6 separate regions of the Homo sapiens genome follow, and all the other regions are linked to region 5. The links are contacts of gene promoters, found by promoter capture Hi-C in blood cells and fetal thymus (Javierre and others, 2016). All regions are on one chromosome and are shown on one strand. Each heading gives the region's core, a stretch centred on a gene start or on the middle of the fragment in contact. The rest is flanking DNA. Distances are from core to core; before and after follow the strand shown. Region 1 overlaps KLHL28 (kelch like family member 28). Region 2 overlaps KLHL28 (kelch like family member 28). Region 3 overlaps TOGARAM1 (TOG array regulator of axonemal microtubules 1). Region 4 has its middle 35 kb from the start of MIS18BP1. Region 5 holds the start of FKBP3 (FKBP prolyl isomerase 3). Region 6 has its middle 16 kb from the start of DORIP1.

Region 1 (4,420 bases), core at 280-2,779, 200 kb before region 5:
TGGTCCTAAGCATTTTGGATAGGAAATATTCAATCTGTATGAGGAGTGCTCCCTAAAGCATTTCTGTCAGTATCTTAAAACCTTTCCCTTAAAATGATGTGATGAGTTTGAGTTCAAAGATAACAATTTTTCCTAAACCACAAAAGTGGATTTGTTTTGTTTCTACGAACTCTGAAATACAACCCTTTTTGATCAACTATACCCCCTGGGGAAGAAAGAACATTTGAAAGTGAACATACAGATTACTGATATACAATAGAAAACAAAACAGAACAATCCGAGGATTGTATGTATGTAACATATGAAAAGATGACATTTGTTACATGGACAAAAGGAGCTTCTATAAATACACACTCTAGTATAAGCATTTCCCAAAATGTATTCAGCAAGTTTGAGAAACAATAATATGCACATTGGCATATAAAAGTCACAATAAAGAAATCTATATACTTTTGTCTAGCTAATTGTCTTTCAAGTTTACCACATACAAGTCTTTTTTTTTTTTTTTCTGGACAAGTAATATTCCTACTGCTATATTCCAAGGAACTATTATTGCAAGCACATCATTATAGAAAACATTGCCTTACATGTTTAGAAATTAATAAATTCTTATTACCTGTTCTAGGTTCTTTCATTGGTCTACACACAGTCCACTGATTTTGATGAGGATCGTATCTTTCAATGCTGGACAAATGTGAGACTCCATTATGTCCACCCACCACAAAAATAAAGCCTAGCATGACACCCACGCCAAAGTGAATCCTTTTATCTGCCATGGATGCAACCATCTCCCAGGAGTCCTTACTTGGATCATAACGCTCCACACTGCAAATATTTAAAAAAAATTTAATTTACAGATCTTTTGTGTCATTCTTCCTGTCAAAGCAAAACTAAAACCCACTACAGCTTTAAAAGTTCACATAATAGAGAGATATTAAACAAGAGTAGTCTGCCACAAATGCTTAGGTTTTGCTGATAAGATTGCAAAGATAAAAGCTTACCTTGTAAACAAGGTGCAATTCCATATGCTATTCCATTATATTGTGCAAGCGGCAAAGTATATTAAGAGCATAGAACTTGGAGTCAGAAGACCTGGGTTCAAGTACTAATTCTGTATACCTAGGGCTGAACGAACCTTAACCCTACTGCTGTGGATTTGTGTAATCCTGAATAAGTCATTTCCTCTCACCTGCAAAAATGAGGATAGTGCAACCTGAAGGGATTCATATAAGAATAAAGTCAAATGAGTATGCACGTGACTTTGAAAACCACTAACTGAATACAGACTTTTTTTTTTTGTTCCTAAATTTTATTTATTTATTTTTGAGGCAGGTCTCGCTCTGTCACCTAGGCTGGAGTGCAGTGACAAGATCAGAGCTCACTGCAGCCTCAAATTCCGGGGCTAAAGTGATCTTTCTGCCTCAGCCTCCTGAGTAGCTAGGACTAAAGGTACATGCCCCCATGCCTGGCTTGAATACAGAGGTTTTTAGGATCTTCTATACAGTTAAGGGGAAAAGAAGAGGAAGAGAGGGGTGGGGGGTGGGGAGAAAAACCTTTATTTTTTTTCGTCACAGGAGAATTCATGTGGCTTACTGCAAAGCAATCACTGTAGATTGCATAGTACAAACTGGCTGATCATAATTATCTCAGGGTGATTTAGGAGTACTCAGGAATTTGAGTCAAGACTGTGTTTCAGAGAACGTGTGGCATTTCTAAGCTGCATTATGGAATCCAAATTAAATCAGAATTTTCAAAAAGGCTTCCCTAGAAAATTCTAGCAGCTGTTTAAGACTATGGTTTCCTCTGAAGGTGCACAAAGGCACAGAGGTAAGATTGTTGGGCTTGTTCTGGCCCTAACCTATTTCCTGAAAAAACCATAAGCATTTAACAGGCTGTGACACCATTCTGGAGTTCATAATAGAGACTGGGTAATGTTTCTGAAAGAACTCCAGGATAGAATCCATTAGACCAAAATCATTGAAGAAGAGTTGATGCACTGCAGCAAGACTTTCAAGATAATCAAATTTAAAATACTTAACCTTTTATCTTACAAATTTTGGGCAGAAGCTTTTCAAAGAATAGAAATGCATGTCTATGTCCCATATTTTTCCTTCAACTAAGGGCAAAAAATATAAATAAATAAAAGGAGGAATACTTTGGCTTCAATAGAAGTAAAAATTTACAGATGAAATGCTGTTGTGCCATCACTTTCTCAGTCAACAAACCTCAGTATTTGTAGAGGATTGGTTCCAGGATCCACCCCATCCCAAGGATACCAAAATTTGCAGATGCTCAAGTTCCTTATATAAAACAGTATAATATTTGCATATAAGCTACACGTATCCTCTTGTATACTTTAAATCATCTCTAGATTACTTATAATACTATGCAAATAGCTGTTATACTGTATTATTTTGTTTTTTATTATTGTAAATTTTTTCAAATATTTTTGATCCACAGTTGGATGGATCTGTGGATGTAGAACCCGTGGATATGGAGGGCTGACTGTATGCCCTGTCATTAAAATACTCACAATCAAAATAACACAAACCACTCTAATTACTATTAAAGATACAATCTTTTCTTTTCTTTCTTTCTTTTTTTTTTTTTTTGAGACAGGGTCTCACTCTGTTGCTCAGGCTGGAGTGTAGTAGTGCATTCAAGGCTCACTGCAGCCTCAACCTCCTGGGCTCAAGCAATCCTCCCACGTCAGCCTCCCAAAGTATTAGGATTACAGGCGTGAACCACCACACCTGGCCAAAGATAAAACCTTTGGAACATCAATTTTCAATAAAGGTTCAGAATTACGATTAATTTCTCATATAACTAGTTACTTCATACTTTTATTTTCTCATATATATTTCTCCTTTATTCAGATAAAACTACAGAATACAGATATCACAAATTCAAACTCCAGCACAAGTCAAATACCTGATGATACATGTATGATTACAGGAAAGAATTCAGAAAGGAATATTTAAATAAGGTTTTAAGTTTATGATGTGCTATAATATTGTATAGACACACAGGAATTAAATTTCTACTTCTTTATTCTATTAAGCAATACAATAAAAGATAATTTACATACTGTGCACATAGATGTACACACCACACAAAATCTAAAGTTGTCTAACTTCATCTTATTTTTAGGTTTCTGAGTTTTAAAATCTAGTCCATTTATAGTGAATGAATGTAAAATTTAATGAGAGGGATTTGATTGTTAGGTTTGTATTAAATTCCCATGTAAAACAATTACAATTATATCCATGGAGCAGATTAAGTTTCCCAAATGCCGGAAGTTCATTCATACACACAAATTGTTTAAAACTCAGAAATCATTGCTAATGAGACTTTTAAAAATCCATAAACATATGCAATTTAATTATTAAGTTAAATACCTGTTCATGTGGGCAGGACCATACCCACCAATGGCATATATCATTCCATCCAATACCGCTGCAGCAAAACAACTTCTTGTTGTCGTCATTGGTGCCACAGGTTGCCATTTTCTTATTTTGGGAATGTACTTCTCTACAGATTGTAAATAAGATTGTCCATCATAACCACCTAAGGCATAAAGTTCTCCTGCAAGTACTACTACTCCAAGAGTACTTCGGCTTTCATTCATTCTCTCTAGAGAAGTCCAAGTATTTGTATCAGGATTCCAGCATTCCACTGAATTTTCATGTTTTCTGATAGTGACGCCAGGACGCACATTAGTTGCAATACCACCTATAACATATACTTTTTGGTCTAAAACGCATATTCCAAATTCATAGCGAGGAATGTTTAGGGGTGCCAAACCAATCCAAGAGTCATTCTGAGGAAAGTACATCTCCACACTAAAGAATAAGCAGAAAAAATATAAAATTTAAAAACCAAAGTGGCCCATAAAGACAGATATGTTTAATCTTATTAGTAATCAGGGACACAAAAATTAAAAGCACAATAAACCATGACACACCTTCCAAAGTGGCAAAAAATATAAAGTCAGATAATAATTGTTGGCAAGAATGTGTAGCAAGAAATGCATACTCCGTTGGTGAGAGTGTAAACTTGTATAAATTACTCTGGAAAACAATTTTACATTATCTAAAAAAGTTGAAGATACATGTGTCCTGACTCAGTAATTACATTCCTATATATCTACTCTTCTGAATGTCTATTATAATTTTGCATCTAGATAAATATACACAAATGTTCACAGAAGCACAACACAATCATCCACCAAAAGAATGGTTAAAGTGTACTTTATGTGTCCTGTCTGAGCAACTCTACTGATGAAAAAGGCATGCATACATATATGTCCAAGAGTGTTTACTACAGTATTATTTGTAACAGCTCCAAAGTGGAAACAATCCAAATGTTTATCCACTATAAAATGGATAAATTGTGCCATATCATATAAAAGAATACTACA
Region 2 (4,310 bases), core at 157-2,656, 190 kb before region 5:
CTAGTAAGTAGATGGCAATCAGAAGGCATAAGTTTAGATCTGTACACGTTCTGTTAGTTATTCCAGTGTTGATCTTTTTAACCTATGTAACTTCTTTTAGCCTCAGTTTTATGAAAAAGTTAAAATCTAGACTTAAAAGTAAAGAATGAATAACAGGAAAGGCAAGTAGATAGAAAAAATAGGTAATGGGGTTAAGAAAGCAGTCCTCGTTAACTTTACCTTCTCAATCTTTGTTTTCCTTATTTGCAGAATGAGATCATAATAATACCTGTACTTTATTATTCAGGTATTAATGTAGCTGAGGTTTTTGAGGATCAAATCAGACAATGTACATAAAAACATGATAAACTGTAAGTGATATTGTACTACAGTAGTACTATGGTAGCAGTGAGGCGATAGAGATAAAACATATCAGTGAAGAACACAGACTTTGGAAATATAAGGTAATGAGTTTTAGTCCCATCTGAATCTTAAATTATATTATTAGGTGGAATAATAGGTACCAGCCTTTCTTAATCTAAGTATTAATTGTTTCATTCATAAAATAAGAATACCCCACTTATCTCAGAAGTTTACCTGAAAGTGATTCTCTAAAGTATAAAGTTCTACAAAATATACAGCTTGAGGTGTTAAGAATATAGTACTTACGTCTCACTGTACTAAATTGCCACTTCCCAATATCCCCACTTTCACTAATTCCCATTCTTTCCCACAATGACCTTTTACTCTTATGATGCTCATGTAATGACTATAGCTCTATATAAAACTTGCTATCTCCCAAATATTTTCTTACCACACGTTAGATTTTGTCTATAACCTTTCTCCTCTGATCTTCCTTTCCTCCAATTCAAATTCTCAAAACTCAAGATCAAAAATTAACTTTACCTGGACGTCTATAAGCATTTATTTACTATATCCCTTTACATGCAATTAATTCAATTATACGTGTTGCTCTGTAAAACATACCCCTTTCAACTCTCATTTTCTGATTTAACAAGGAGAATGGTAGACTAAAAAGTGAAGGATGAACAACAGAAAAGGAAAATGTATGCGAAAAATAAGAGAAGGGATTGAAAAAGGAGACCTAGTCACTTTGTAAATTCATCTCTCTCTCAGACTAAACAATTATGTTTCAAGATATTTAAAAGAGCCTGCAAATGAGATTATTGAATCATTACCAGTGCCACAGGACTGAAGACTATTTTCAAAAATAAGACAGTAAATTCTACAATATGGTAAGATTTCTGTTAATTTCAGATAACATTCTAAAACAAATTATTAAAGATTTGACTTGTGAATACCGATAAGAAGATGTAGAGATCTTTAGGATTAGGATATATGAGCTAAAAATAATAAGACATGTTACAGACTAGGTTTGTTTCTTTTTAAAAATTTATTTAGAAGACTTGTAGATCAGAAAAGTAGACTTGATATTTAACTAGATATTAGTAAATAATTTTATAATGCCCTTCATGATTTTTCAAAGAACAAAACTAAAAAAATATATAAGCTAGTTCAGTTAGCTAAATCAGCAACTAGTGGAACAAATACCCCCCAGAGTATACCACTTAATGGAATGAGGCCTAGAGGGATGCTTCTAGTGGTATTCTGTAAGGCCAAGATGAAGATATTTTATGTCCTGAACTTTGAAGATGACATGAAGCTGCAAAGGACAGCAAAAGCATTGACTAACACAATAAGGATCCTGAAAGACTTATATCTAACAAGAAGAAATTTAAAAGGGATAAATGTAAAAATTCTATAGCAGATTCCAAACCAACTACCCAAGTATAGAATAAGAGAGAAAAGACGCATCTGTAGAACGTGTTTAACAGGTTTAGGGATTTTAATTGCAGTACTATTTTAACACCATAAACTTATGTGGGTTTAAGCTGCATTAACAGAACTATAATATACAGAACTACAGAGGAGAAATTTTTGCTTTGCTCTGCAAATGTCAGTCCATATCTGTACTACAGATTTTGGGTATCATCCTTTGACAGGGATCTAAACAGACTGTAACACCTGATGAACAGCAGAAATTCAAATCATGTCTTACAGGTAATGGAACAGAGGTACTGAGTCTGGGAAAAAAGGAGGTCTGAGTTATCACATGAAAAACCAAGGAATGAAGGTTACTCAACAACAACAGGAATAATAATTATAATATAGGGTTGTTTTGAGGATTAAACGAGTTTATACATAAAAAGGGCTCAGAATAGGGCCTATCACTTAGTAGGCTCTTAATAAATATGAGTTATTACTAGTAAATTCTTCGAGTTGTCCCTTGAGAAGTAGTCAACTTTCTATGTTGCACTACCTCTCACTATTAGATAAGAAACCCACTCTGTCTTCTCTGATACCCTGGGCAACACAAGTATCACAGAATTGTTGATTCTCAAATCAAGGTTATGAAGTATTGACTAGATTCATTTTTAATATAATTAGGAATCACATAGTGATAGATCCTATATTGTTAACCTAATTTTTGTGTACCCAATTCAAAACTGGTACACCATCAACATATGACACGCAAAAATGACACAACATAGGTCTGTAAATACACACATACATGTATGTACACACACAACACATAAATATACACACATGCATATATTTGTATGATATGCAGTATAGTTTTAAGAGACTGGGCTTTGGTACCAGGCTTCCCGGGTTACAATACAATGGTCTGTATTATGTGACCTTGGGAAATTCAGTCAAAAGTTTCAGTTTTCTCATTTGTAAAAAAATAGACAAAATTGTATAAAAAGCAGTTGTAAATATGCCTTTCTATGTGCTGGTACATAAGCACTCAGTAATTGGTAGACGTTATTTATTTTTACTGTTCATCAACCTTTAAAAAGCTTGGTTATTGCCAACTATATCCATGAAATGCCTTTCCATGCATACCAAAAAAGGAAGGAAGTTTGCTTACTGTCCAGGGAACAAATACCTACCAAAGCCAGGCCAAAGCCTCACTAATTCTATCAGTAAAGAGACATATGAGCCATTTTAAAATATAGATGGCTTATTAGATTTAGATAGTTTATTACTTACAGATTGAAAAGAAGATTAGCCAAAGAGTAAACTGCCTGGATCCTTGTCCCGCACATCAAAAATGGTAACACAAAAAAGGGGCTGGCCCCATGAAAACTATGGCTAAGCAGTTTTCTATTCTGTAGCTCTATTCTAAGGGTGTGGGATGGGGTCAAAAGTCTAACACCTAATCACAACCAGGGAAGTGAAGAGAAACTGTCTCATGACACACTTGTAGGGGAAATAGAGAGGTGAGTGGAAAATTGGGAGATGACCTCATAGCAGCTCCTTAGAGGCCTCTCACTCTCTCATATTCCAGGAGAATCACAAGGTGTGTCAAGCCACGGATAAGCTGCAGTCCTGAGGTCCAAGTCTTTGCCTACATGGATACATGCAAGGTGACCAGAGTACCATGACAAAGTTGTTCCCCTATACTTATGCCCCTATAATACTGCTTTATCTCACTTTCCTAGATCTATGTTGTTAAAACCTTTTAAATATTTTCTGACCATTCCAACTAGTAAGTAAGACATTCTATTCATTTGAACCAGCATGGTTCATTTTACTCCATAATAATAGAAATTATCAAAGTGTTTAAAATGGGCCAAAGAAAAGGCACTGGTAAAAGTAACTTCATAAAAGAAAGCCTAGCATATTTTTATAATTGTATTAGATGCAAATGATATACTTTCATTCCTTGTAAGAACTACTGAGAATAAAGTTTAATTTTAAAAATTATAGTTTGAATGCTTAATCAAAACAGTGTCAACTAGCAACTTCAACAAGGCAAGGTAAAAATAGGGAACTTAAAATGAATTACACTAGCAGTTTTCCATAACATAATTTTTTTGTTTTGTTTTTGTTTTTGTTTTTCAGACAGGTTCTCATTCCTGTTGCCCTGGCCAGGGTGTGGTGGCGAGATCTTAGCTTACTCACTGCAGCCTTGACCTCCTGGGCTCAGGTGATTCTCCCACTTCAGCCTCCCAAGTAGCTGGGGCTACAGGCACACATCACCACGCCCGACTAGTTTTTGTATTTTTTTTGTAGAGAAGGAGTTTCACCATGTTGCCTAGGCTAGTCTCGAACTCCTGGACTCAAACGATCACCCACCCTGGACTCCTAAAGTGTTGGGATTACAGGTGTGAGCCACTGAGCATGACCAAATTAAATCTTAAAATTTTTAATTTGGCCCCTTTCCTCTCTCAAAAAATATGACTTTAGAAAAATGCACAGAATTCTAACATTTTCAAATATAGAGTTTTTAAAACAGTGGT
Region 3 (4,453 bases), core at 225-2,724, 140 kb before region 5:
TAGTTGGTTATTTCACACACTAGTTATTTTGCATGCAGTTTGCAATATTTTTTCCTCTCTTTGATCAGTCCTGGTTCTTCCTTGATTCAGCTGATTACCTTACTTTTAGCATGTATGAAAACAAACTGCACACAAAATAGCTAAATAGTCTGTATTTTGTTTGCACATTTTATGGGTGTGGTTAGCTGACGGCTACAGAGAGTTCAGTGTGGGTATTCTCCCTTTGTGTAGGCAGTTTACAGATATTTTAAAAAAAACACTTTGGGTTTTTTTCTTTTGTTTTTGAGATGGGGTCTTACTGTGTTGCCCAGGTCGGTCTTGGACTTGGGCTCAAGTGACCCTCCCACCTCAGCCTCCCAAAATGCAGGGATTACAGGTGTGAGCCACTACACCCAGCTGAGGCTTTTTTTTTTTTTTTTTTTTTTTGGAGACAAGGTCTCACTCTGTCTTCCAAGCTAGAGTGCTGTGGCACAGTTATGGCTCACTGCAGCCTCGACCCCCAGGCTCAAGTGATCCTCCCACCTCAGCCTCCTAAGTTACTGGGACTACCGGAATGCAACACCAGGCCTGGTTAATTTTTTATTTTTTGTAGAGATGGGGTCTTGCCATGTTGCCCAGGCTGGTCTCAAACTCCTGAGCTCAAATAATCCTCCCACCTCCACCTCTCAAAGTGCTGAGATTAAAAGCATGAGCCACTGCACTCAGCCTTAGTTTTTTGTTTTTGTTTTTTTTTTATTTTAGCTATGTAGCATATGTGACAGTCTTTCTAAAGTCTGCCAGTCTCCTTCTGTCAGCACTGCTACCTTAAGCCATGTAGGTACCATTTCCCTCATTGGAATTTTTTCCTTATCAATCTGAGAAAAGCCTGGGGAGCAATCTGAATGTTCCATCAAAGGAGAGTGGCACATCTAGTCAATGGAATATTAGGCAGCCATTAAAGATAATTTATGTCCTTGGACTCAATAGTTCCGTTTTTAGGACTTTTATACTATAGGAATATAATACACAAAGATATGTGTGTAACAATGTTCACTGCAAGATTGTAATAGTGAAAAGTCGTGGCAAAGAAAATGTCCATCAGTAAGGAACTATGAGTCTAAAATAAACAGATATGTATTGTCTTACATGGAAGGATGTCTACATATTTACTCTGTGCCAGAGTATCATGTGATTTATTTTTGTTTTTTTTTTAAAATAGCTTATTGAAGAATGTTTACATATAGAAAAAGACCTGTTAACAGGATTTATCAGTAGGATTCTACTGAGAAGGGTCCCAAAGAATAATTTAAGTTTATATCTTATTTCTATAGTTTGCATTTTTTAAATTTAATTTTTCTTTTGATAACTTTGGTATTTTTTATATTTTTTACAATAAGCAATTATTATTTTTGTAATTAAAGTTTATAGCCAGGCATGGTGGTGTGATCCTATAGTCCCAGATACTTTGGTAGCTGAAGTGGCAAAACCCTTGAGCCCATGAGTTCTAGGCCAGCCAAGAGAACATAGTGAGACCCTGTCTGTTAAAAAAAAAAAAAAAAAAAAAAAAAAAAACCAAACCAAAAAAAAAACACCAAAAAGTATAGCACTTATAAGGGGTTTTAACAGCATGGGAAGTACTTTTATTATAATGTAAAGTGCAAAAATCAGGATATAAAGTTTACATATAGTATCACAGCTATTTTTTCTAAAGTGTACATAGGAAAATAATTTGAAAGACAAATACAGTGATGTTTACAGAAGGTAACTGTGGTTAATGGGAATAAACTTGTTTAATGCCCAGCATTAAGGGGCAAGGGTGGAGTCTGGGTGAAACCAGAAAGAACTGGTAAAAGGTGAAAGGTTCAAAAACTGGAGGTCAAGATAAAGTTTAGTACAAGTTCAGTAAAGCCAGGAGTATAGGTGATTTCTGAGAGAATTAGATATTAAAAGGTCTTTTTCTGGTAATTTTTTGCTACCAAAATAGAATTAAAACTATTTTTGAGATGCTTTAATACTCCCTGCCAAAAGCTGCAATAGGATGCATTAGGTCAGAGGATTAAACAAGAGTAAATTTTTGTAATCTTTTTTTTTTTTTTTTTTTTTTTTTGAGATGAGTCTCCCTCTGCCTCCCAGGCTGGAGTGCAGTGGCGCGATCCTGGCTCACTGCAAGCTCCGCCTCCTGGCTTCACGCCATTCTCCTGTCTCAGCCTCCCGAGTAGCTGGGACTACAGGCGCCTGCCACCACGCCCGACTAATTTTTGTATTTTTTAGTAGAGACGGGTTTTCACCGTGTTAGCCAGGATGGTCTCGATCTCCTGACCTCGTGATCTGCCTGCCTGGGCCTCCCAAAGTGCTGGGATTACAGGCGTGAGCCACCATGCCCGGCCTAATTTTTGCAATCTTTTTATGAAAAATATGCAGGGATTCAAATAGAAAGACTAAGAGATAATAGGCTGTGTGTAGTGGCTCACGCCTGTAATCTCAGCACTTTGAGAGGCCAAGGTAGGCAGATCATTTGAGCTTGACGGTTCGAGCTCAGCCTGGGTAACATGGCAAAAAATAAAAAAATAAAGTAAAATAAAATAAAGATAAATAAAATAAAAATAAAATTAGCTGGGTGTGGTGGCACATGCCTATAGTCCCAGCTACTTGGGAGGCTGAGGTGGGAAAATCACCTGAGATGGGGAAGGTCGGCTGCAGTGAGCCATGATCATGCCACTGCATTCCAGCCTGAGCAACAGAGTGAGAACCTGTCTCAAAAACAAAAACAAAAACAAAAACAAAAACAAAAAAAGATTGAAACAGTAAATAACACTATGTAAATTTCCAACCATTATTAATATTAAATGTGAAACTTGCTTTTTTATAATGTTTTAATTTACTATAACTCTAAGGAATTAAATAAATTTTTAGGTATTAACTGCAAAGGTTGAAAATTCAGTTCCATGTTCCTGAGAGTCATCAATCAGGTGCTTTAAATAGACTGCTTCACATTTTGTAACGTTAACTCACAACTCTTTCAAAATTTATGAATTCTATTTTCTTTTACTCTAAACCACTTTTTCTTCGTTCATTGTTTCGTCCCATCAAAACTTACCCTAATGAAAATCTTTTACTTTTAAGAGAGACCTAAAGAGGACTTTCATGTTAATTGGTATGTCCTATAGTCTGCTTTCAGATGCACAATCTTCTATAGCAAAACTTAATCTCTGCCTGACTGCTGAAGATTTCTGAAAATGCCACATTCACATATGCACACACCACCACCCTCATCAACATTACCACCTCCACCAGTTGTTGTATGTATCTGGCCTATATACTAATATCTGTTTGCTAAACAGAAATTAATCACAAAGTAAATCTAACATAAAATGTATTCCATACTGTAGAATTATTTCTGGATTACTCACTATGTTAGCTGTATTAATACATCATCTTTTAATATATCTAATCAGAAGTTGACTATAATTGGTTTTGTTTTTATTCCATTATATCCTTTTGATACTGACTACTGTATAATCAATCATGGACGTTAACTGGGTTTTGAGACAGTAAAGTCAATCCTTTTTTATTACGGCATTCTTCTGTTTTTTTTGAGGCAGAGTCTCACTCTGTTGCCCAGCCTGGAGTGCAGTGGCATGATCTTGGCTCACCGCAACCTCTGTCTCCTGGGTTCAAGCAGTTCTCCTGCCTCAGCCTCTGTCTCAGCCTCCCGAGTAGCTAGGACTACAGGTGTAGGCTACCATGCCTGGCTAATTTTTGTATTTTTACTATGGATGGGGTTTCACCATGTTAGCCAGGCTGGTCTTGAACTCTTGACCTCAAGTGACCCACCCACCTTGGCCTCTCAAAGTGCTGGGATTATAGGCATGAGCCATCATGCCCAGCTGAGGGCATTCTTTTTTTTGAGACAGGGTCTCAGTCAGTCACTCAGGCTGGAGTGCAGTGGCACAATATCAGCCCACTGCAGCCTCTACCTTTCAGGTTCAAGTAATCCTCCTACCTCAGCCTCCCGATTAGTTGGGACGACAGGCACATGCCACCATGCCTGGCTAATTTTTGTATTTTTTGTAGAGATGGGATTTCACTATGTTGCCAAGGCTGATCTTGAATTCCTGGGCCCAAGTGATCCACCTGCCTCTGCCTTCCAAAGTGCTGTGATTACAGGTGTGAGCTACTGCACGTGGCCTCATCTGGGCATTCTTAATTTTGTTACTTATCATTTCTGGGTTAGTTTTTGAAGGAGGTAATAGGTTTTTCACAAAATTTGATAATAAATAACGTGTACCTGAGGCATAATAGACTTACCTTTAATTTTATTTTGCCATTTGATAATTGGCAAAGTTTACAAAGAAATATACTGACAAGGTTTTTAGTTCACCACATCTAGATTTGATTGTGTCTATGAGCTCCAAATAAATATATAGGAAGCATAATTTCCTGTCAATGCATTCAGTTTTTTTAAAGTTTTATA
Region 4 (4,356 bases), core at 703-3,202, 150 kb after region 5:
ATGTATATATTATATAAATTCCCATCATGAGCTGGGTCCTATCAGACTTACCAAATAGAAAGGTCAGATAGCCCAAGCAACAGTACATTGCAAGATGGAGTTGGTACATTTAGGAGCAAGTATAATCATAACCAGATGGCTCAAACAAGCTTCACGAGTAGGTATTACAGACCCCCATGGCACCTATCACTGTTTTAACAGTGCCCTTTCATTCATCTCATGCCTGTGGTTCTATGGAGGATTCTACCCAAAGCACAAAGAAAAAAACTCAAGCTTGGTTTATGGATGGATCAGCTCAGTATGTAGATGAAAGTCAAAAATAGCCCTACTCAAAAGTTGCTTTGAAAAGACAGAAGGTTCTTAGAACCATCGTCTAATACATGCTTTGCCCAAATGTGTTTCTCTCCCTGGTCTCACCAATACATTTTTTTCCCTCCTAACCATAGCTCTTGCTTCATTATATTTTAAAACCATTAACCTCTCAAATAATTTTATGGAATCCACTTACTTACCTCTTTTAAGAATTATCATCCATAACTTTGTCAAGTTTGAACCTTTTTAGAGAGAGGACCTTACTCAACATGTAGATTGGTTACCTTTTTGACCCAAGAATTGTACATCATTGCCACAGCTCACGACCCTGCCAGTGTAATTTGTTTCTTGAGATATGGGGTAGTTTCATAAGACTTGGCTACTTCAGGGTTTTAGCTCTGTGGTGATTAAAGGAATAATATTTAACCCAGAAATACTTATTAAACCTGCCAATCTGTTAAGAAAAAAGAACATTGTTTAGGATATCTTTTGATAGTAAAAGGAAATGCTTTAGGAGGACGAAATAGGTTGGAAGTTTCTGATCAGGCTTTTATATTAAAAAAAAAGATAAATGTAGGGAGAAGAAAAGGAAGTTACTCATGGAAACAAAGAAATTGGGCCTTAAAATCAGAAACAGACCTGGGAGCATGAGGCCATTTATATTCGTGGCCTTTCTTTTTTTTCTTTCTTTTATTTTTTTTGAGACGGAGTCTCACTCTGTTGCCAGGCTGGAGTGCAGTGGCGCGATCTTGGCCCACTGCAACCTCCACCTCTTGGGTTCAAGTGATTCTCCTGCCTCAGCCTCCCGAGTAGCCGGGTCTACAGGCATGCGCCACCACGCCCAGCTAATTTTTGTATTTTTAGTGGAGACGGGGTTTCACCATATTGGCCAGGGTGGTCTTGATCTCATGACCTCGTGATCTGCCCACCTCGGCCTCCCAAAGTGCTGGGATTACAGGTATGAGCCACCGTGCCCGGCCATTCATGGCCTTTCTACATGAGCACTGTGAAAGAAATTCTGACATCTCTTAAACAAGTATGCCTTTTCTCTTGCTAATTAATTTCTGGAATTTTGTTTCAAGTCTGACTTGAGAATGCTATGAAATATATGTTATCTTGTAAAGCCAATCCCATTCGATCAGAGGACAGTTCAAGTTGATTATTATTACTGTTAGTAGTATTATTATTTTGTTCTACCACAGGGCATTTCCCTCCTATAAATGTGCACAAACAAGGTATATAAAGGAAGTTTCTCTAGAACATATTAAAATGAACAATTTACCTTAATCTATGAATTTGCCAGACTCAGAAGAAGCATTGGAATTTAACAGGTTTCCACTAGATGGCAAGCCGCCTCTTTGAATTTCTCAATGGCATCAAGCAAAAATATTGCTGCTGTTTAAAACGTACATCTTTGCATGAGACAGCTGCACTTGTATCAAAAACTAATAAAGGCACTGATTCATAAATTTAGCCAAATTTAGAATCAAGCTATTCAAACTGAAACTGAAAATATATTGTAATGTTTAAAAGTTTTATTTGGAGAATATGTATTCATTTATTAATTTAACAAATATGAAGTGCCTCCTACGTGTTTTTCATGCTTTGTTTCATTTGTTCCCCCTAACAATGAGATTGGGTGTTCTTATTAGTCCCAATTTAGAGACTGGGAAACTGAGGCTTAGATAGATTAAATGATTTAGTAGTCCAAGATATACAGGTTTAAACCTACACAGTTTGTCCCAGAGCCGGCTCTCCTAACCACTACATCTTAGTGCCCACCATAAATAAATTACAGTAAATCAGTGTAATATGTGTAGCACTGTGTCATGTTTAAAAGGATTATTTTTTATTTTCTTCTTACAGACATTAGCAGAGTTAAATCTTCTGGCATGACCTTTATGAAAGACTGTGTATAAACAAGTAAAAATGATTGCAAAACACACTATATTAGAGCAAATAATGTCTGTACAGTGTTGCCTATATAAGCATATGCAAGATGAAAGGAAATGGCATAAAACTCTGCAAAAATACTACAGAAAAAGACAAATGTAAAGAGACAGAGTCAGAGAGAGACTGAGAGAAACATACATGTGAAAGAGAAATGATGAAATCATCTATAAGAAATCATAATTTCTGGCCGGGCGCAGTGGCTTATGCCTGTGATCTCAGCACATTGGGAGGTCGAGGTGGGAGGATACCTTGAGCTCAGGGGTTTGAGATCAGTCTGGACAACATTGCAAAACCCCATCTGTACCAAAAAGTACAAAAATTAGCTGGAGGTGGTGGTGCATGCCTGTAGTTCCAGCTACTCGGGAGGCTGAGGTAGGAGGATCACTTGAGCCCAGGAGTTGGAGGCTACAGTGAGCTGCGATCATGCTACTAGACTTCAGCCTGGGTGACATAGTGGGACCCTGCCTAAACAAAAAAAAAAAAAAAAAAGGAAAAAAGAAAAAAGAAAGCTGGGTGTGGTGGCTCATGCCTGTAATCCCAGAATCCCAGCACTTTGGGAGGCTGAGGCGGGTGGATCACCTGAGGTCAGGAGTTTGAGACCAGCCTGGCCAACATGATGAAACCCTGTCTCTACTAAAAATACAAAAAATTAGACGGGCATTGTGGTGGGTGCCTGTAATCCCAGCTACTTGGGAGGCTGAGGCAGGAGAATCCCTTGAACCCAGGAGGCAGAGGTTGCAGTGAGCTGAGATCGCGCCACTGTACTCCAGCCTTGTCAACAAAAAAAAAAAAAAGGAAAAGAAAAATAATAATTTCTGTAACAGAAACTGTTTCCTTGTTAATGTCTCTTGCTGTAGAAGAATTTTTCACAAATAGAAATTCAGTGAAATGAAAGTTTAAAAGACAAGAATATAAAACAACAGAATGAAATTAAAAGGGAAGTGCAAGGTCAAGGAAACTCAGATGTAAAGCAGAATTTTAAATCTAATAAATATATTAAAAGAATAAAAAGCAGAAGAGACATAGTTAAAATTTAAATTAATGTGATGGAAAAAAGGCATAAGTTACAGTGAATGAGAAGCAAGATGGAGATGAAGGCAATTAGGAAGAGGCTGTAGACATGGATGACTGACAAAACAATAGGCATCTCTGAAGTAGACAACAGATGGTGAGAAAAAGTATTCAGAGATATAATAGTGGAAAATCTCTTTCATAATAAAGCACACACGTCTAATAGGAAAAATTGATACTGAATTACCAACATTGAGAAGTGCCCTGTATGTTACCAAGCATCAAGATTTTAACAACAAAAAAGAATTCTTCAGACATCAAGTAGAAAAAGCAAGTTACTTAACAAGGGGAAATTCAAGCTTGTGTCAGACTTTTTACAGAAACATTTAGCACTGGAAGAAATAGAGGTGTCCACCACATTCTTGGACAAAATATTATATTCATCTATGTTATAATTCAAATATAAAGTATTCAGGGGATAAACATTTAAGAATTTTTTTTTAGGGGTTGCGTTGCTCTCTGGTAGAGGCGTGCAGGTGTTAGCCACACCCTCTGAGCTGGGATGAGCTGTGCTCCTGGTGGAAGCAAGGGAGCCCAGCCGAAGCCATGGCCAGTACAGTGGTAGCAGTTGGACTGACCATTGCTGCTGCAGGATTTGCAGGCCGTTATGTTTTGCAAGCCATGAAGCATATGGAGCCTCAAGTAAAACAAGTTTTTCAAAGCCTACCAAAATCTGCCTTCAGTGGTGGCTATTATAGAGGTGGGTTTGAACCCAAAATGACAAAACGGGAAGCAGCATTAATACTAGGTGTAAGCCCTACTGCCAATAAAGGGAAAATAAGAGATGCTCACTGACGAATTATGCTTTCAAATCATCCTGACAAAGGAGGATCTCCTTATATAGCAGCCAAAATCAATGAAGCTAAAGATTTACTAGAAGGTCAAGCTAAAAAATGAAGTAAATGTATGATGAATTTTAAGTTCATATTAGTTTATATATATGAGTACTAAGTTTTTATAATAAAATGCCTCAGAGCTACAATTAAAAAAAAAAGAATTTTTTTTTTTAAAACTCTAGTC
Region 5 (4,512 bases), core at 803-3,302:
GCTCTGTCGCCCAGGCTGGAGTGCAGTGGCCCAATCTCGGCCCACTGCAACCTCCCCCTCTTGGGTTGAAACGATTCTCCTGCCTCAGCCTCCCGAACAGCTGGGATTAGAGGCGCCCACCACCAGGCCCAGCTAATTTTTTTTGTATTTTTAGTAGAAATGAGGTTTCGCTACGTTGGCCAGGCTGGTCCTCAATGCCTGGCCTCAACTGTTAGTCAGGATGGTCTCGATCTCCTGACCTCGTGATCCGCCCGCTTTGGCCTCCGAAAGTGCTAGGATTACAGGAATGAGCCACCACGACCGACCGAGACTATGCATTTAAAAGATTAATGTTATAAAAACATTTTGATAATCCAAGTCTGTTGAAATTCTTCCACGTGGCCCAGTTTTACATACGATTCCACATGGCATGATTTGTTTCATAAGAATATGATGGATGAAGTACATGACTGAGGTATTATTAAATGTTAATGATGTCTATTCTATTGTTTCAGATGAAATACGAATTGGCTTAAGAGAAAATAGTTCCATTAAAATGGGGTAAGATCCCCGACACATGTTCTTTTTCACCCTTGTACCTCCAAACACTGAGAATAGTTCTTGTTACAGATGTTGTATTAATATCTGCTAAATTAATCTAAGATGCGGATGCCAGGATAATAATTAAGGAAGAAGGCACTGGAAGTTGGAGAGTTCTTCTATCTCCCTGTCATGACGCCCGCCCAAAATGAAAATAAAATATAAGCTTCTCAAAATAACCCAGAAATAGTGGCTCACGCCTGTAATCCCAGCACTTTGGGAGGCCGAGGCGGGCGGATCACGAGGTCAGGAGATCGAGACCATCCTGACTAACACGGTGAAATCCCGTCTCTATTAAAAATACAAAAAATTAACCTGGCGTGGTGGCACGCGCCTGTAGTCCTAGCTACTCGAGAGGCAGAGGCAGGAGAATCGTTTGAACCCGGGAGGCGGAGGTTGCAGTGAGCCGAGATCGCGCCACTGCACTCCAGCCTGGGCAACAGAGAGAGACTCCGTCTCAAACAAACAAACAAAAAAACCCAGAAACAGTTTTTCTAAATGAAAAGTTTAGAATTTTAAAAATTGTATAGAAAACACAAGCAGGCTGCCGCTTGTAAGAGAATGCTGCGTGCACAACTATTTCAGCAATTTAACAGGTGCATGAATGAACTTATTTTCCAAAGGAAAAACAAGTGTAACAAAAATAACTTGACTATAGACGGATGGTTAAGATGGAGACTATGCTGACAAATGGAGAGCCTACAGTATAAAGCATTTCAAATAAATTTCTTAGTCTGTTTATAACAATGACAGACCACTGCACAAGAGAAATGTGCATGTAGCTCCCTTAAAGTATAAAGGTGAAAAGGTCATTTAAAGGGTCGATATGTTAAATCAAAACTTAAACCACAACCTACGGATTTTTTAAAAATCACACGCATTAATGTTCAGTATTTAGTAAACTGTTGAGAAAAGCAAGTTGGATACACCGTTCCCACAGAAATCTTCACATCCCTTCCCATTTCCCTAGTAGCCGGCGCCCCGCTCCCAGGAGTCTCATCCACACCACTATTCCTCGGCCTCTCCGCCCTAGCCCCCAATATCCTCGGGTTCCTATTTTTCTGGCCTCCACCCCCACTCAAGGATCCCAATGAGGTTCTAACTCTACAATTGCAGCCTGTGTGCCCCAAGAAATAAAGCTGCTCCCCTGCCCCAGTAGAGAACGCCCGAGAGGCGGGAGCGAGGCACCAAAGCACAAGCTGGGCCTCTCCGGCCTTCCAGGCCACCGGCCGCGGGAAGACGAGGGCGGGGGCACAGAGGAATACGGAATGTATGGGCATCTCCAGGGGGGTGAGGCGTCCCTCAGCCGCACCAGCCCGGCCGCCCCTACGCCTCTGGTACCGAATCTGAACCGTGTTCCTGCAGAAACTTGATAATGTCCTTCTTGGGCAGCTGCTCACTGCGCAGCTGCTCCACGGTCCACGCCCGCTGTGGAACGGCCGCCGCCATCTTCCCCCGCTGCCTCCGCTTTACTGAGCCAGCCCGCCGCAGTTCGGCATCGCCCCGCCCCCTAGGGCGGGGCGGGGCCACTCACGGAGGTCGAGGGGCGGGCCTCTGCTCTAGCAGTCGGGATTGGGGCCTGTCTTTGAGTGACGTCAAGGCTGTGCTATGAGGGCTTCTTTGTTGAGTCCGGGTTGAAAAACCTACCGCGGTCGTCTCTGCAGTCGACTGAGTAGAAGACCGCTAGAGATCTTCGATTCTGAATTAGACACCTTGTGAAGCGACCTCTGATGGTAGCGACATTTATCAACCATTACCCACATTTAAGGCAGCTATGCCTTTAAAGTCCAGTCTATAACCTGTTAAAAGAAAACAGCATTCAGGCTCCTTATCTCGTTTTATCTAGTTCTAGCCTAAAAAGTCACACCTGAAGTGCTTCAGTCCTTGTCGATCCGAAAACCCATATCCCACCATTTCCCTTTTAAAGATCACACAACCGAAACTTAAATACAAACTGCCCATCCCCTTCCCCCCATACAAATACGAGAAAGTTTGTCCAAAACGAAGTTCAGAAACTTTAACAAATAAAACAATTTATAAAGAAGCCGCACTCAGGATGCCACTTGCTGATGAGAATGACATTATTAATGCTCGTAACTCTGTGATGTATATTTTTTTCTCAGTACACGAGGAAACAAATTTACAGAGGTTACTCAAAGTCAGGTTTAGAGAGAAGTCAGGAATTATTTGAGACAGAAATCTTCGTTAGAGTGGAATAATTGCACACCGACGTTTATTATAATGCTCTTACCTATAATAAAGATTTAATAGTTGAACATCAGGACTCCTTACTTAAAAAAATGTAGGCTGACTCTGGGCATGTTGCCTATGAGTTAGCTCTGCTTTGCAAGGAGCATTAAAAAAAAAAATTCTGACGAATAGCTGGACCAGACCACGTTCACTTCCCTTTAAACAATGAAAATATTAAAATAATGGGTTGCCACTCCCAGCGCGGTGAAAAAGAGACTTGGCATTTTGTTTTCTCAGCCCAGATAGAGATATAAGACAAATTATTCCATCTACACATTTTTGCTTTTCACTTTATATTCTGATTTAAAAGTACAAGGAATGAGGCACGTTAGACGCTCAATAACATTAAGTTCCCAAACTGGTGGCTATTCCATTGTCCCCGGGTATGTAATATTTTACAATAAATCTCTATTATAACATTTTAAGTGATTTATCACGTTAGCAATGACGCCCAGCCATCTAATCATTGGAAACGGAACTTAAATTTAGAGTTTGTTAAAACAAAACACCGGAACCGCACCGGGGACCATATTTAGAGTAACGCCTTAATAATGCGCATGAGTCTCCGGCAGGGCTGTGAAGGTTTCCGGGAAGCCAGCCAATCATTCCCAACGGAAACTCAGTAGCGGCATTTTCAACTGGATAAACTGGCCTTAGTCCCGCCTTCTCGTTCCAGAGTTTTGTGCGAAGGAAACCGATGGGGATCGGAACCGTAGCGGTTGAGCTGCTGCTGCTACGGATATCTGACAGAAGCCTTCGGTGGTTGTCGGCCTAATGAGCGGACGGCAAAGAACGCTTTTTCAGACGTGGGGCTCAAGTATCTCCCGATCATCTGGGACTCCGGGTTGCAGCTCCGGAACTGAGCGACCTCAGAGCCCTGGCAGCTCCAAGGCGCCTTTGCCAGCAGCAGCGGAGGCTCAGCTGGAGTCGGACGATGATGTGTTGCTTGTCGCGGCGTACGAGGCTGAGCGGCAGTTGTGTCTAGAGAATGGCGGGTTCTGCACCTCCGCGGGCGCCCTGTGGATTTACCCTACCAATTGCCCAGTGCGGGACTACCAGCTGCACATTTCCCGGGCTGCTCTGTTTTGCAATACGCTGGTGTGTCTGCCTACCGGACTGGGAAAGACCTTTATTGCCGCCGTGGTCATGTACAATTTCTACCGCTGGTTCCCTTCAGGAAAGGTGGTCTTCATGGCCCCAACGAAACCCTTGGTGACACAGCAGATCGAGGCTTGCTACCAGGTGATGGGTATCCCGCAATCCCACATGGCCGAAATGACAGGTATCTTAGACTGGACTAATTTTGAAGTAAGAGCTGGGAATTCCTGACCCATGTGGAATAGTTCCCAAGCTACAACATGTGCATCTTACGCCCTCCCTCTTAAAACATTCTCTACTTGCAGCAAGCCCAAAACTGATGAATAGGGTTGCTTTATTCAATCTTCAGAGAATATCTGCAGCTTGTCATAGTATTTTGAAGCTATTATGTGCGTATACCCCATGGGTAACTGAACATGATATTTCCTGGCATTCTTCCTGAAAAAGATTTCTCAGTTGAAGAATTTGCCTCTCTTCAAATATGCCATTTTGTAGGAATTTTCTAAAGACAATTTGGTTGTAGTCCTAGATAAGTGCCAGCTTTGATATTTGGACCACACCAGAACTTTAAAATGTAGCATTCCG
Region 6 (4,202 bases), core at 1,506-4,005, 250 kb before region 5:
CAAATTCCCAAAGGTGAATGAAAAAGAAAGGACACTAAAAGCAGCAAGAGAAAATAAACAACATGCAGTGGAGCTCTAATATGTCTGGCAGCAGACTTTTCAGTAGAAACTTTATGGGCCAATAGAGAATGGCATGACATATTTAAAGTGCCAAAGGAAAAAACTTTCCTCCTAGGATAGTATATTCAGCGAAAATATCCTTCAAACATGAAGCTGGAATAAAGACTTTCCCAGACAAACAAAAGCTGAGGGATTTCATCAACTCCAGACCTGTACTACAAGAAATGGTAAGGGGAGTACTTAAATCAGAAAGAAAAGGATGTTAATGAGCAATAAGAAATTGTCTGAAAATTTAAAAACTCACGGGTAAGTGCATAGAAAAACATAGAATACTATAACAATATGACTGTGGTGTGTAAACTACTCTTATCCTAAGTAGAAAGACTAAACAATGAAAAAAAACTACAACTTTTTAAGTCACAGACAGTATGGTAAGCTACAAATAGAAACAACAAAAAGTTAAAAAGCAGGGGGAGGGGCTGGGTGCAGTGGCTCACACCTGTAATCCAAGCACTTTGGGAGGCTGCGGTGAGTTGATCACCTGAGGTCAGTAGTTTGAGACCAGCCTGGCCAACATGGTAAAACCCCGTCTCTACAAAAATACAAATAAAAATCAGCTGGGTGTGTTGTTGCATACCTGTAATCCCAGCTACTCAGGAGGCTGAGGCAGGAGAATCACTTGAACCCAGGAGGCGGACATTGCAGCGAGCCGAGACTGTGCCACTGCACTCCAGCCTGGGCAACAAGAGTGAAAACTCCATTTCAAAAAAAAAAAAAAAAAAAAACCCCAGCAGGGGGAGGAAGTTAAGGTGTCAAGTTTTTATTAGTTTTCTTTTCACTTGTTTATGTAAACACTGTTAAGTTGTTATCAACTTAAAATAATGGTTTATAAGATAGTATTTTTAAGCCTCATGGTAACCTCAAATCAAAAATCATGCAACAGATACACAAAAAATAAAAAGCAAGATACTAAATCATACCACCAGAGAAAATCACCTTCACTAAAAGGAAGACAAGAAAAAAGGAAAGAAGAAAGCAAAGACCAGAAAACAAATAATGAAATGGCAGGAGTAAGACCTTACTTATTAATAATAACATTGAATGTAAATGAAGTAAACTCTCCAATCAAAAGACATAGCCTGAGGCTGGGCTGGGTGGCTCATGCATGTAATCCCAGCACTTTGGGAGGCTGAGGTGGGCAGATCACTTGAAGTCAGGAGTTCAAGACCAGCCTGGCCAACATGGTGAAACCCCATCTCTACTAAAAACATAAAAATTAGCCAGGTGTGGTGGCATACATCTATAGTCTCAGCTACTCAGGAGGCTGAGGTGGGAGGATTGCTTGAACCTAGGAAGTGGAGGTTGCAGTGAGCCAAAATCATGCCACTGCACTTAAGCTTGGGTGACAGAGTGAGACTCCATCTCAAAAAAAAAAAAAAAAAAAAAAAAAAAAGACATAGACTGGTTAACTGTATATAAAAATAAGAACATTGATCTGTTGCCTACAAGAAACACACTTCACCTATAAAGACACATGTAGACTAAAAAAATAAATGGATAGAAAAAGGTACTCCATGCCAATGGAAAACAAAAAAAGAGCAGGAGTTACTATACTTATATCAAACAAAATAGATTTCAAGATAAAACTATAAAAAGAGACAAAGAAGATCACTATATAATGATAAAGGGGTCAATTCAGCAAGAGGGTATAACAATTTTAAATATACATGCACCCAATACTGGAGCACCAAGCTATGTAAAACAAATATTATTAGAGCTAAAGAGAGAGAGAGACTCAAATTCAGTATTAGCTGGAGACTTCAACACCCCACTTTCAGCACTGGACAGATCTTCCAGACAGAAAATCAAGACAAAAACATTGGACTTAATTTGCACTCTAGAACAAATGTACCCAATAGATATTTACAGAACATTTCATCCAATGACTACAGAATACACATTCTTTTTCTCAGCACATGGATAATTCTCAAAGATAGACCATACGTTACAACACAAAACACATCTTAAAACCGTCAAAAAATTGAAATAACAGCAAGCATCTTCTCTATGATAGAATAAAACTAGAAATCAATAACCAGAGGAATTTTGGAAACTATACAAACACACAGAAAGTAAGCAATATGTTTCTGAATTACCAGTGGGTCAATGAAAAAATTAAGAAGGAAACTGAAAAATTTCTTGAAACAAATAAGGGAAACACAACATGCCAAAACCTGTGGGATATAGAGAAAGCAGTACTAAGAGGGAAGTTTATAGCTATAAGTGCTTATGTCAAAAAAGAAGAAAATTTTTCAATAAACAACCTAATGATGCACCTTAAAAACCTAGAAAAGTGAAAGCAAACACCAAGTAGTAGAAAAAAATGATAAAGATATGAGCAGAAATTAATGAATTTGAAGTGAAGAAAACAGTACAAAAATCAATGAAAAGTCATTTGATTTTTTTTTTTTTTTTTTTTTTTTTTAGATGGAGACTTGCTCTGTTGCCCAGGCTGGGGTGCAGTGGCAGGATCTCGGCTCACTGCAACCTCCACCTCCCAGGTTCAAGCGATTCTCCTGCCTTGGCCTCCCAAGTAGCTGGGACTACAGGTGTGCACCACCACACCCAGCTAATTTTTGTATGTTTAGTGCAGATGGGATTTCACCATGTTGGCCAGGCTGGTATCAAATTCCTGACCTCAGGTGATCCACCCACCTTGGCCGCCCAAAGTGCTGGGATTACAGGCATGAGCCACTGCTCCTGGCCTATTTTTTTTTTTAATAAACAAAATCAACAAAGCCTTACACAGACTAACCAATAAAAAAAGAGATAAGACCCAAATAAATAAAATCAGAGATGAAAATGGAGACATTACAACCAATACCACAAAAATTCAAAGGATCATAAGTGGCTACTATGAGCAATTATATGCCAAAAACTGAAAAAGCTAGAAGAAATGGATAAATTCCTGGACACATACAACCTACAAAGACTTAACTATGAAGAAATCTAAAACCTGAACAGACCATTAACAAGTAATGAGATCAAAGCCATAATAAAAAGACTCCCAGTGAATAAAAGCCCTGGATTTTATAGTTTCACTGCTAAATTCTACCTAACATTTAAAGAACTAATATTAATCGTACTCAAACTATTCTGAAAAATAGAAGAGGAAAGACTACTTCCAAACTCATTCTATGAGGCCAGTATTACCCCGTTACCAAAACCAGACAACACCACATCAAAAAAAAGAAAACTATATGCCAATATCACTGATAAATATTGATGCAAAAATCCTCAACAAAATACTAGGAAAGCAAAATTGACAAAACATTAAAAAGGTCATTCATTACAGCCAAGTAGAGTTTGCCAAGGAATGCAAGGATAGTTCAACATATGTAGATCAATTAATGTGATACATTATATCAACACAATGAAGGACAAAAACCATATGATCATTTCAACTGATGCTGAAAAAGCATTTGATAAAATTCAACATCCCTTCAAGATTAAAAAAAAACCCTCAAAAAAATTGGAAATAGAAGGAACATACCTCAACAAAATAAAAGCCATATGTAACAAACCCATAGCTAGAATCATACTCAATGGGGAAAAACTGAAAGCCTTTCCTCTAAGATCAAGAACATGACAAGGATGCCCACTTTCACAACTTTTTTTCAACGTAGTACTGGAAGTCCTACCTAGAGCAATCAGAAAAGAAAGAAATGAAGGGGATCCAAATTGCAAATCAAGAGTTCAAATGATCCTTGCGTGCAGATGCTATGATCTTATATTTAGAAAAACCAAAGACTTTACAAAAAAATTATTAAAACTGATAAACAAATTCAGTAGTTGGAGGTTATAAAATCAACATACAAAATCAGCAGAAGCATTTCTATATGCCAACATTGAACAATCTGAAAAAGAAATCAAGAAAGCTGTCCCATTTACAATAGCTACAAATAAATACCCAGGAATTAAACAAAAAAGTGAAAAGCTTATACAATGAAAACTATTAAGACATTAATGCAAGAAATTGAAGAATAAACCAAAAAAATGGAAAGATATTTCATGTTCATGTATTGGAAGAATCAAAATCGTTAAAATGTCCATATTACTCGAAGCAATCTACAGATTCAGTG

What was found. The method cuts DNA at HindIII sites, captures the fragments that hold promoters and counts their contacts. A CHiCAGO score of 5 or more calls a contact.
Region 1: a contact is called between a fragment that was not itself captured here and the fragment with the promoter of FKBP3 in region 5, in 17 of 17 cell types (non-activated CD4 T cells, activated CD4 T cells, naive CD8 T cells and 14 more). The highest score is 30.0, in non-activated CD4 T cells.
Region 2: a fragment that was not itself captured here is called in contact with the fragment with the promoter of FKBP3 in region 5 in 14 of 17 cell types (activated CD4 T cells, non-activated CD4 T cells, naive CD8 T cells and 11 more); the score reaches 19.8 in activated CD4 T cells.
Region 3: a fragment that was not itself captured here is called in contact with the fragment with the promoter of FKBP3 in region 5 in 11 of 17 cell types (activated CD4 T cells, fetal thymus, non-activated CD4 T cells and 8 more); the score reaches 11.0 in activated CD4 T cells.
Region 4: a contact is called between a fragment that was not itself captured here and the fragment with the promoter of FKBP3 in region 5, in 3 of 17 cell types (monocytes, M2 macrophages and naive CD4 T cells). The highest score is 8.2, in monocytes.
Region 6: a contact is called between a fragment that was not itself captured here and the fragment with the promoter of FKBP3 in region 5, in 3 of 17 cell types (non-activated CD4 T cells, total B cells and total CD8 T cells). The highest score is 7.9, in non-activated CD4 T cells.

The regions. Positions count from the first base shown.
Region 1 is chr14:44,930,717-44,935,136 of GRCh38, forward strand. KLHL28 (kelch like family member 28) reads right to left here. Exons shown (of 5, transcript NM_017658.5): 3 at 3,399-3,842; 4 at 617-825. Among named protein-coding and RNA genes, the nearest start is that of KLHL28, 29 kb to the right of the region's middle. The HindIII fragment of the contact is 1,071 bases long and covers 995-2,065 here.
Region 2 is chr14:44,947,963-44,952,272 of GRCh38, forward strand. All of the region lies in intron 1 of KLHL28 (kelch like family member 28), which reads right to left. Among named protein-coding and RNA genes, the nearest start is that of KLHL28, 12 kb to the right of the region's middle. The HindIII fragment of the contact is 2,911 bases long and covers 1-2,862 here.
Region 3 is chr14:44,990,551-44,995,003 of GRCh38, forward strand. All of the region lies in intron 1 of TOGARAM1 (TOG array regulator of axonemal microtubules 1), which reads left to right. Among named protein-coding and RNA genes, the nearest start is that of TOGARAM1, 31 kb to the left of the region's middle. The HindIII fragment of the contact is 7,515 bases long and covers 1-4,453 here.
Region 4 is chr14:45,286,154-45,290,509 of GRCh38, forward strand. It overlaps the pseudogene DNAJC19P9. Among named protein-coding and RNA genes, the nearest start is that of MIS18BP1, 35 kb to the left of the region's middle. The HindIII fragment of the contact is 3,362 bases long and covers 272-3,633 here.
Region 5 is chr14:45,132,429-45,136,940 of GRCh38, forward strand. FKBP3 (FKBP prolyl isomerase 3) reads right to left here and starts at 2,053. Exons shown (of 7, transcript NM_002013.4): 1 at 1,921-2,053. The coding sequence starts at 2,028. FANCM (FA complementation group M) reads left to right here and starts at 3,502. Exons shown (of 23, transcript NM_020937.4): 1 at 3,502-4,111. The coding sequence starts at 3,604. RefSeq lists enhancers at 1,251-2,122, 1,810-2,029, 2,123-2,993, 3,656-3,705 and a silencer at 1,999-2,176. The HindIII fragment of the contact is 3,907 bases long and covers 744-4,512 here.
Region 6 is chr14:44,879,079-44,883,280 of GRCh38, forward strand. No RefSeq gene overlaps it. Among named protein-coding and RNA genes, the nearest start is that of DORIP1, 16 kb to the right of the region's middle. The HindIII fragment of the contact is 2,600 bases long and covers 1,456-4,055 here.